3 separate regions of the Homo sapiens genome follow, and all the other regions are linked to region 3. The links are contacts of gene promoters, found by promoter capture Hi-C in blood cells and fetal thymus (Javierre and others, 2016). All regions are on one chromosome and are shown on one strand. The core of a region is centred on a gene start or on the middle of the fragment in contact, and the rest is flanking DNA. Distances in the headings are between cores, read along the strand shown.

Region 1 (2,700 bases), core at 147-2,646, 280 kb before region 3:
GGCCTCCCAAAGTGCTGGGATTAGAGGAATGAGCCACCATGCCTGGCCAAATTTTTAAGAAATTTTCTGTAGAGATGAGGTCTCACTATGTTGCCCAGCCTAGTCTCAAACTCCTGGGCTTAATCAATCCTCTATCTTGGCCTCTCAAGAAGTTAATTTTTAAAAGCCGAATTGGGGATTATTTTCCAACAAGTCTGTCTTAATTCACAGTTTTTTTTTACTTGATCTAATTTTCTAAACATTCTGTTCATTGTCCTATAGGTACTACACTCCCAGTAGTCAGCTCTTCAGTATGCACTACCTACTCACTTGTGGATAAACAATTTCCAGTATAGGTTACACTCAGGAAAGCCTAATGCAGCCACAGGCTCTCTGAGGCCGCCCCCTCATCCAGCATTCACCCTCCTTCTTTGCTTTGACTCATCACTGAGAACAGGCAAAAGTATAAAAAGTCTGCAGCTCCAACTCTTCAAAACACCCTGGGTTCTCAACTCCCTGGAGAAGGTCCACATTAAGAACTGTGTATAGCAATTAGCTATAGCTTTTCCAGTGAAAACTCTGACGGCTAGCCACAAACAGACCAGGAAAATGCCCGTCATAATTTGAGACAGCTAAGAGGACCGCAGAATGATTAATGATGCAGGGAAACGTAGGAGAAGGATATATATATTTTTTTTTTTTATTTTTTTTATTTTTTAAGACAAAGTCTCGCTCGGTTGCCCAGGCTGGAGTGCAGTGGCACAATCTCAGCTCACTGCAAGCTCCGCTTCCCAGGTTCATGCCATTCTCCCGCCTCAGCCTCCCCAGTAGCTGGGACTACAGCCACCTGCAACCATGCCCGGGTAATTTTTTGTATTTTTAGTAGAGACGGGGTTTCACCGTGTTAGCCAGGATGGTCTCGATCTCCTGACCTCATGATCCTCCTGCCTCAGCCTCCCAAAGTGCTGGGATTACAGGCGTGAGCCACCGCGCCTGGCCAAGAAGGATATAGTTAAAGATTTAAGATATTTAACTATCATGGACAATTTTGTTTTATAGAAATTTGGATCACCAAAATCATAGTAGTTAACTGTCCTCCCCCACCAACGCACTTACACATTTTAAGGAACTGGGTAATGGCTAAATGGTTACATTAATTTTTTTTTTGCGACAGAGTCTCACTCTATCACCCAGGTTGGAATATAGTGGTGCAATCTCAGCTCACTACAACCTCCACCTCCCAGGTTCAAGCAATTCTCCTGCCTCAGCCTCCCAAGTTGCTGGGACTACAGGCATGCACCACCACGCCCAGCTAATTTTTGTATTTTTAGTAGAGACAGTGTTTCGCCATGTTGGCTGGGCTGGTCTCGAACTCCTGACCTCAGCTGATCTGCCTTGGCCTCCCAAAGTGCTGGGATTGCAGGTGTGAGCCACCATGTCCAGCCAAATAAAGGTTACATTAATATTTAATGGTTAAATGATCATAGCAGTGAAGTTGGTTTTAGATCAATATATTAAAGGACAGAATAATACAGACTGAGCATCTTTAATCCAAAAATCTGAAATGCTCCAAAATCCAAAACTTTGAGTGCTGACATAATGCCACAAGTGGAAAATTCTACACTTGACCTCATGTGATGGGTCACAGTCAAGTCACAGTCAAAACTTTTCGTAAAAAACATCATGCATGAAATTATTTAAAATATTGTACAAAATTACCTTCCAGCTGTATAATGTGTATATGAGACAAATAATTTTGTGTTTAGACTTGGGTCCCAGGCCCAAGATAATCTCATTATGTTCATGCAAATATTCCAAAACCTGAAAAAAATCCAAAATCTGAAATATTTACAGTCCCAAGAATTTCAGATAAGGGATACTCAACTGTACTTATGTCTATTTCACACCACCTGGAGTAAAATTACAGTCATAAAAACTAGTTCATAAATGTTCTGTCACTGCTTATGAGACCACTGATCCTCTCTCTAATGTGATGCCAAGTGGTGATGAGAAAAATGGTAACTGCCTGCCTACAGGCAAATACAATATTATTTAGACATGCATGTACCAGAAAAAACAGAGGCCTAGAGGGGGTAAAAGGGAAGGTTCTAGGATCCTGTTAAGTAAGGATCACTTTCCACTCCAATGATAGCAACGGGAACAGAAGATTCAATAAATACTCTGAAGATCATGCCTTTAGATTTAATAAATAAAACCATTTCAAATAAAAAGTCTAAGTTCAAATGTTCTGCCACATGAGAATTGCGGTTTCTGCAAAGGCACTGGCTGTGAAACAGTCCACAGGGACCCATATAACTCACTTGTACTTCTCATTGATGTTGGAAATCCTCCAGGCGTTGTTCATATCAAAACCCATCCTCTCCACCTCGTTTTTAAACCTTGAAGTTACATGCTCCCCTAGAGGCCAAAGATAAACAGCAGAAAGGAAGAAATGAATACCATTTTGCAAAACAGGTGGAATAAAAACAAAGAAATATACATATGTTACATATATGTAAATATATATATATTTTTTGAGACAGGATTCCACTCTGTCACATAGGCCGGAGTGCAGTGGTGTGATCTCAGCTCACTGAAACTTCCGCCTCCCAGGTTCAAGTGATTCTTGTGCCTCAGCCACCCAAATAGCTGGGATTACAGGTGCATGCCACCATGACTGGCTAATTTTTGCACTTTCAGTAGAGATGGGGTTTTACCACA
Region 2 (2,718 bases), core at 9-2,508, 300 kb before region 3:
TTTGGGTAGAAACAGAGTTTCAACACATTGCCCAGGCTGGTCTGGAACTCCTGGGCTCAAGCGATCCTCCCACCTTGGCCTCCCAAAGTGCTGGGATTACAGGCATGAGCCACCAAGCCTGGCCCCAAAGCAAAATTTTCTGTCATCTGACAGCATCTGCCTTTTAAGCCTCAGAAGACAAATCATGGCAAATAGGCAGGAGCACAGAGCACTGGGGAAAACACAAACCAGGGGGTCACAGAAAAACTGGAGGATTTGCTCTATCACTGAGGAGCGGCTCAGTGTATGCAAAACAACATGAAGCAACAGGGCCTAACTCACTCCCAGAAACAAGGATCTTACAGCCTCGTAGCTCAGAAATCCCTATAACTTCCCTGAAAAAACTGCAGAGACCTAAGAAAGATACTGTGGAGCCAGATACCATCATGATCTCTGACCATCCCTGCACACGTCCCAACACAGGAATACACCCACACAGGCTGTCAGGCCTGTGGCATCACCCTGGGCTCACCGGCTCAGGGGGGGATCATCAGGGCTGGTGCCTGGGGCTGGGTATGGTGCACAGCTGTCGTCCACAGGGGTGGTTGGGGATGGGCAGGGCAGGTACACTGCACTCCACAGCATCAGGTTACGCACATGGCACACAGGGTACAGCACCTGAGGAGGGGGGAGGACACAGGTTTAAATATGCCCCAATAAGTCTTCTAGGATGTCTGGAAATGAGGATCAAGAGCAAGCACCCAGCTGGAATACCCAACAGGGCTGACAGGATCTCCACAAAGAAGCAGCACCAATGGATACAGGTCTATCCCAAGAGGACCAATACAGGACTAGACATTTTATATAGCCAACATTTTTCACCTAAGAGCCACTTGAGAGCATGAAAATATAAAATATTTTTTAGATCCCTTTCTCATTATAGTTATTTCTTAGGTCACCTTCAATGTCTGACTTTCATCAGCTTGATTTGTTGCTTTTACTGCCTAAGAAAGTGAGTCATTCTGTTAGATGGTGATTGTCCATCCTGCTGGCACAAAAGCTTGGCTTCAAGAAACACTGTCAAACCCATTTTATGGGATCATTTAAATTAATCATGTGAAAAGAAGGAAATTTTCCTGCTGTATTGTTACTTCCCCAGAAGGCACACTGAAGGGGAGAGACAAGCAGTCAGCTTAAATCTTTTCTGTGATTACTTAAATGTAATGAGAACCATATTAATAGTCCAGGAAATCAGTATGAACTCTGATTAGCCTCCTTTTGACTTCTTTAGGGTCTAAGATGCATTCTGACAAAGCTAGTATTACTATGAAACTGACACATAGGTCTATGTGCCTCCTTTTCTCTGCTTAACAGAAGGTATTCATTCCTTCGGGGAACAAAGTCTTAAAGGGCCTGCCAGCTCTTCATGTGAGCAGAGAATCAGACAGACACACATACCAATGTCAAACACAGTTTACTGTTCTGAGACAGAAGCTTTGGTGGGTATCATTGCTTATTGACACTGGGAGGGTGCTGGGGGCCTGGTGGCAGCTCATTCTGAGCTATCAGTGCATCAGGAAGCAACTTAAGTGCCTCTCCCGTAAGACAGAATATGCTAGAAATAAGCTCTGGAGGCAGTGCCAAAAAAGATTCATGTCTAGGGTGGCAAAGTAGAGATCTGTGTTAAACCAAACCACCCTCAGCAAGTAGTCATCAGAAACAGATCAGAGCACCATCAGAAGCAGGCCTTCCTCAGGACAGAATCATGGGGGAAAAATGGAACCAGTCCATCCAGAGACAGTAGAGATGTCTTCACAAAAACAGTCACTACTCAAAAAGGCTCTCATATGTAACCAACCCCAAATTCCTTCTGCTGACCACAGTGGAAAGGCTGAAGGATACATACGGCTTCTGACTGAGAGGAATACAGTAGGTTTTTGAAAGCCTTGTTGCCTGCCCGAAGAAGTGACCACACGGAACATGTCCGTTCCTGAGTATGCTTTTCCCCTCTCTCCTTGGCGTTGTTGCACAGGAATGTTCCAAACAGGCAGGAATAGGTATGCTGCACCAGTTTCACCTATGGAAGTCCAATGAAGCACAAATTAAGCAATCAGGCATGCACACTCTGATAAGTCAGCTCAGCTGAGCCACCTTATCCTAACATCCCTGAGAACACTTCAATTTACTCTGTCAGGACGGGGAACCCAGTAAGCCATGCAGTAGCCTCCTCCTCCTCACACCACCAATTCCAGGACCCAACAACCTGAGTCAGACAGGTTGTTGGTGCCCCTATTCCTCTTAGCTTCCGTGATAAATAGTCTGAGATTGTGAATTAACAGCCACTCTCACAAGCGCCACAGCATATGAACTGGGTGCAGGAGCACGTCAGTGTACAACTCAAGTCTGAGCTGACAGTATGTTTGTAAAACTACTTGTTCATTCTACAAATTATTGAGCATTTCACATGGCCCAAACATGACTAAGGTGCTGGGCATGTAGCAATGACCAGCAAATTCTTCTGCCCTGATGGAGCTTGCTCTAGTCATAGCTGAAGAGTGACCAGTGCTATGGAGAACAAGGCAGACTGAGATGGACAGGACACATATGAGGCAGTGCAGGATGGCCTCACTGGCTGGGACCCAGTGGACTTGAAAGAGCAGGCATGTGGGTATCTGAGGGGAAGCACTCCAGGCAGAGGCAACCACAGGTGCAATGGCTTTGAGGTAAAGCACATGCTTG
Region 3 (2,820 bases), core at 279-2,778:
GAGAGGCCCATCCTCTGGGTGAGCTCAGCCCCTTGCAACAGCAGACATGCAGATCCCAGGAGGCCGTGACCCCCATCAGCCCAGATCCCCCACTCCACTCCATATGGGGGCTCCAGGAGGTCTGGGGGGAGGGGAAACCTCAGCACCTCCCCCAGCCCAGCAGGGAAGGAGCTGGGCGGGCCCCAGGGGTCTCACTGCTCCTCAGGACACACTGTCCCGGACCCCTGCCCCTGCCCTCTGCTCTGACCTCGCCCAGCCAGCGGCCTGCCATCCCCCTGCGAGTCTGAGAGGCAGGGGGAACGGGGTGGGGGCGGGTTTGGGTCCTGGCCTCTCTGCCTTTCCCTTCCAGGCTTGGCTATCGCGACTTAGCCGCCCAGTCCGGCCACTTGTTGTCGCCACCGCCTCCCGGGCCGCCTTCCCGGCGCGCCGGGCTGGGGGTCCCCGCAGGGCTGCAGGGAAGGGGCTACGGCCGCAGGTGGGGACGGGGGCGGCCCCGCAGCGGGCAAGAGCAGGGCAGTCGCCCTCTCCCCTTCTGCTGCTGCCCGAGCAGATTGAATTTTTAAAGCGACACGAGCGGAATGTCAATGCGAGCAGAGAGCCGCGGGCGGGCGCCGCGGAGGGGATCAGGATGCGGGTGCTCCGGCCGGGCCGGCGCTGGGGGCTCAGCGCGGACCCCCGCCCCAGTCCGCCGCGTTGCCGCACCGTCACCGCCGACTGCGCGGCCCCGTGACCCCGCTGCGGGGCCCGGCAAGTTTCCGCAGCGCTGGGGACCACGCGGGCAGGGGCTGGGCCGCTCTCCGCCTGAGCGACCCCCACCGCGGCGCCCCGGGGTGCGGACAGGTCTTGCCGCGGGGCACAGCTGCTAGCTGGGGCGCCCACCTGGCAACCGGCACCTGCGGACCGCCCCCCGCCCCCCGCCCCCGCGCCCCTGGCCCGCGCTTCACCTGGGCGCACAGGTAGGAGGGCCGCCGGGGCGGGGATCCCGGCGGACACTCACCCTCCAGCTCGTCCTCCGGGATGTCCACCGGGCGCTGCTCCGACAGCAGGTTGGGCACGGTGTAGATGCCCCGGTACATCAACGCCGCCGTCACCGGGTGGAACGGCATCTTGGAGGCTCCGCGCCCGCCCGCCCGCCGCAAACTTTGAGGCCGGGGCTCATGGGCCGGTGGCGGCCCCGGGGGCGGCTGGAGCGGGCGGGGCGCGCGGCTGCGGAGGGCGGCGGCGGCAGCGGCGAGGCTGGGGACGCCCCTCCGGGGGCCTAGCGCCCCCGCGCCCCGGGCCGCCGGGCCATGCCGCCCGCTCCCTCGTCGGGCTCCCAGCCGGGGCCCCGCAGGGGCAGCGGGGGCGGCGCCGCTCTGGCCTTTCCGAGAGCTCCGGCTGCCTCGCGCGGTGCCCGCCGCGCCCGCTCCTCGGTGCCCCGCGCGCTCCGCGCTGCTCGCCGCCCGCTAGTCCGCTCGCCGGCGCGGCCGCTACCGGCCCGGCGCTCAGGCTGTAGCCGCCTCTCCGCTCGCTCGCTCGCTCGTTCTGTGCCGCGCTGGCTGCGCTCCCCGCCTCCCCCGCCAGCCGCCCGCCCGCCCCCTCCGCGCTCCCCACCCCCAGCCCGCCCCTTCCCGCCGCCGGCCCCTGAGCGGCCGCCCCAAACCTGCCCGGGGCTCCTTCTCCCCTTCGGCCCCGATTCCCCTTTCCCACTAGGGCTCCCCTCTGTTCACTGGCTCTCCTCACCCTAAGTCTGCAGCCACCAGGACCAGGGAGGGGGTGGGTTGCGGGGGTCCTCCTTCCTGCCCCTTGGCTCACCTTCCCCCATCCACGCACCAGGAGCGGAGAGCCCGGAACTAAGAACTGTAGACCCAGAGAGGTGAGACTGGCCCCAAGCACCTGGGTCCTCAAGAAGAGTCACCGTTTCCGTGCCAGGAGGATCCAAGGTGGGGAAACTGAGGCTGAGAGAGAAGGACGTTGACCAAGGTCACAGGGCAGGAGCAGCAGGTAAGAGCTGGGTACACGTCTGGGGTAGGCTTCCTGCCCTGCCTGTGACTGACACCCTGCCGCTGACCTTGCTCCCCACAATGGGGCCCCAGTCCCGGACCCTTCCCAAGCCCCTACCTTTCAGCTTGCAGAAGAGGAGCCAAAGTGTCTCATGGCCCCCAGGGCAGTTCGGGACAGAGACATGGCCCGGTGCCTGTGGGGTCTGGTGTGAGGGCCTGCCAGTTCACATGGCTGCAGCTCAGACCTAATGTATGTGCAGGGCTTCCCCAGGCCCCAGGGCACGTCGGCACCCCAGAGCTGGGGTGGGGGCAGGTGTTTGAGGGAGCAGCCTGCGTGTGCATATGTCTGCTATCCATGAGGGTGTGTATGTGCCACTGGGCACGTGCGCAGGTGTCTGTGACTCCATATGCAGATGGACAAATGTCGGGAGTGTGTGGCCACCTGTGTGTGCCAAGGTTGTACGCTGGCAGGTCGGGGGAGGTGTGCAGGCCCTGGGGCTGGGAGTGGTGTGGGCATATGGTGCACAGATGTGCATGGGAGGGGGTGACCTTCTGGCCTGGCTGTGGCCCCATCTCTGGGTGCTTCCCTGAATCCCCCTACTGGGACCACCTCCCTGCCCCCTTTGGCCCAATCAGCTAAAGGTCCCAGCAGGAACGCTGATTGCACAGCCCTGCCCGGTCCTGCCCTGCCCTTCCCAAGCTGATTACACTTTTCTGCTTGTTTCTGTTTTTGTTACTGATTAATCGCAGCCTTGTCTCAGGGTCTGGGGAGAAGGGGCTCAGTGAGAGATGCTAGCCCCAGCCAAGCGGGGTTGGGTCAGCCTGGGCCCAGCACTTC

What was found. Contacts are between HindIII fragments. The CHiCAGO score rates a contact against its expected background, and 5 or more counts as called.
Region 1: a contact is called between a fragment that was not itself captured here and the fragment with the promoter of CABP7 in region 3, in 3 of 17 cell types (M0 macrophages, erythroblasts and neutrophils). The highest score is 7.4, in M0 macrophages.
Region 2: a fragment that was not itself captured here is called in contact with the fragment with the promoter of CABP7 in region 3 in 1 of 17 cell types (erythroblasts); the score reaches 6.0 in erythroblasts.

Annotation. Positions count from the first base shown.
Region 1 is chr22:29,998,458-30,001,157 of GRCh38, reverse strand. It overlaps MTMR3 (myotubularin related protein 3), which reads right to left. Exons shown (of 20, transcript NM_021090.4): 8 at 2,301-2,397. Among named protein-coding and RNA genes, the nearest start is that of MIR6818, 7.2 kb to the left of the region's middle. The HindIII fragment of the contact is 4,824 bases long and covers 1-2,700 here.
Region 2 is chr22:30,015,866-30,018,583 of GRCh38, reverse strand. It overlaps MTMR3 (myotubularin related protein 3), which reads right to left. Exons shown (of 20, transcript NM_021090.4): 15 at 1,886-2,056; 16 at 512-657. All of the region lies in intron 4 of HORMAD2-AS1 (HORMAD2 and MTMR3 antisense RNA 1), which reads left to right. Among named protein-coding and RNA genes, the nearest start is that of MIR6818, 10 kb to the right of the region's middle. The HindIII fragment of the contact is 434 bases long and covers 1,042-1,475 here.
Region 3 is chr22:29,718,711-29,721,530 of GRCh38, reverse strand. CABP7 (calcium binding protein 7) reads right to left here and starts at 1,528. Exons shown (of 5, transcript NM_182527.3): 1 at 998-1,528. The coding sequence starts at 1,106. It overlaps CABP7-DT (CABP7 divergent transcript), which reads left to right and starts at 1,628. Exons shown (of 3, transcript NR_186695.1): 1 at 1,628-1,983. RefSeq lists an enhancer at 1-219. The HindIII fragment of the contact is 23,163 bases long and covers 1-2,820 here.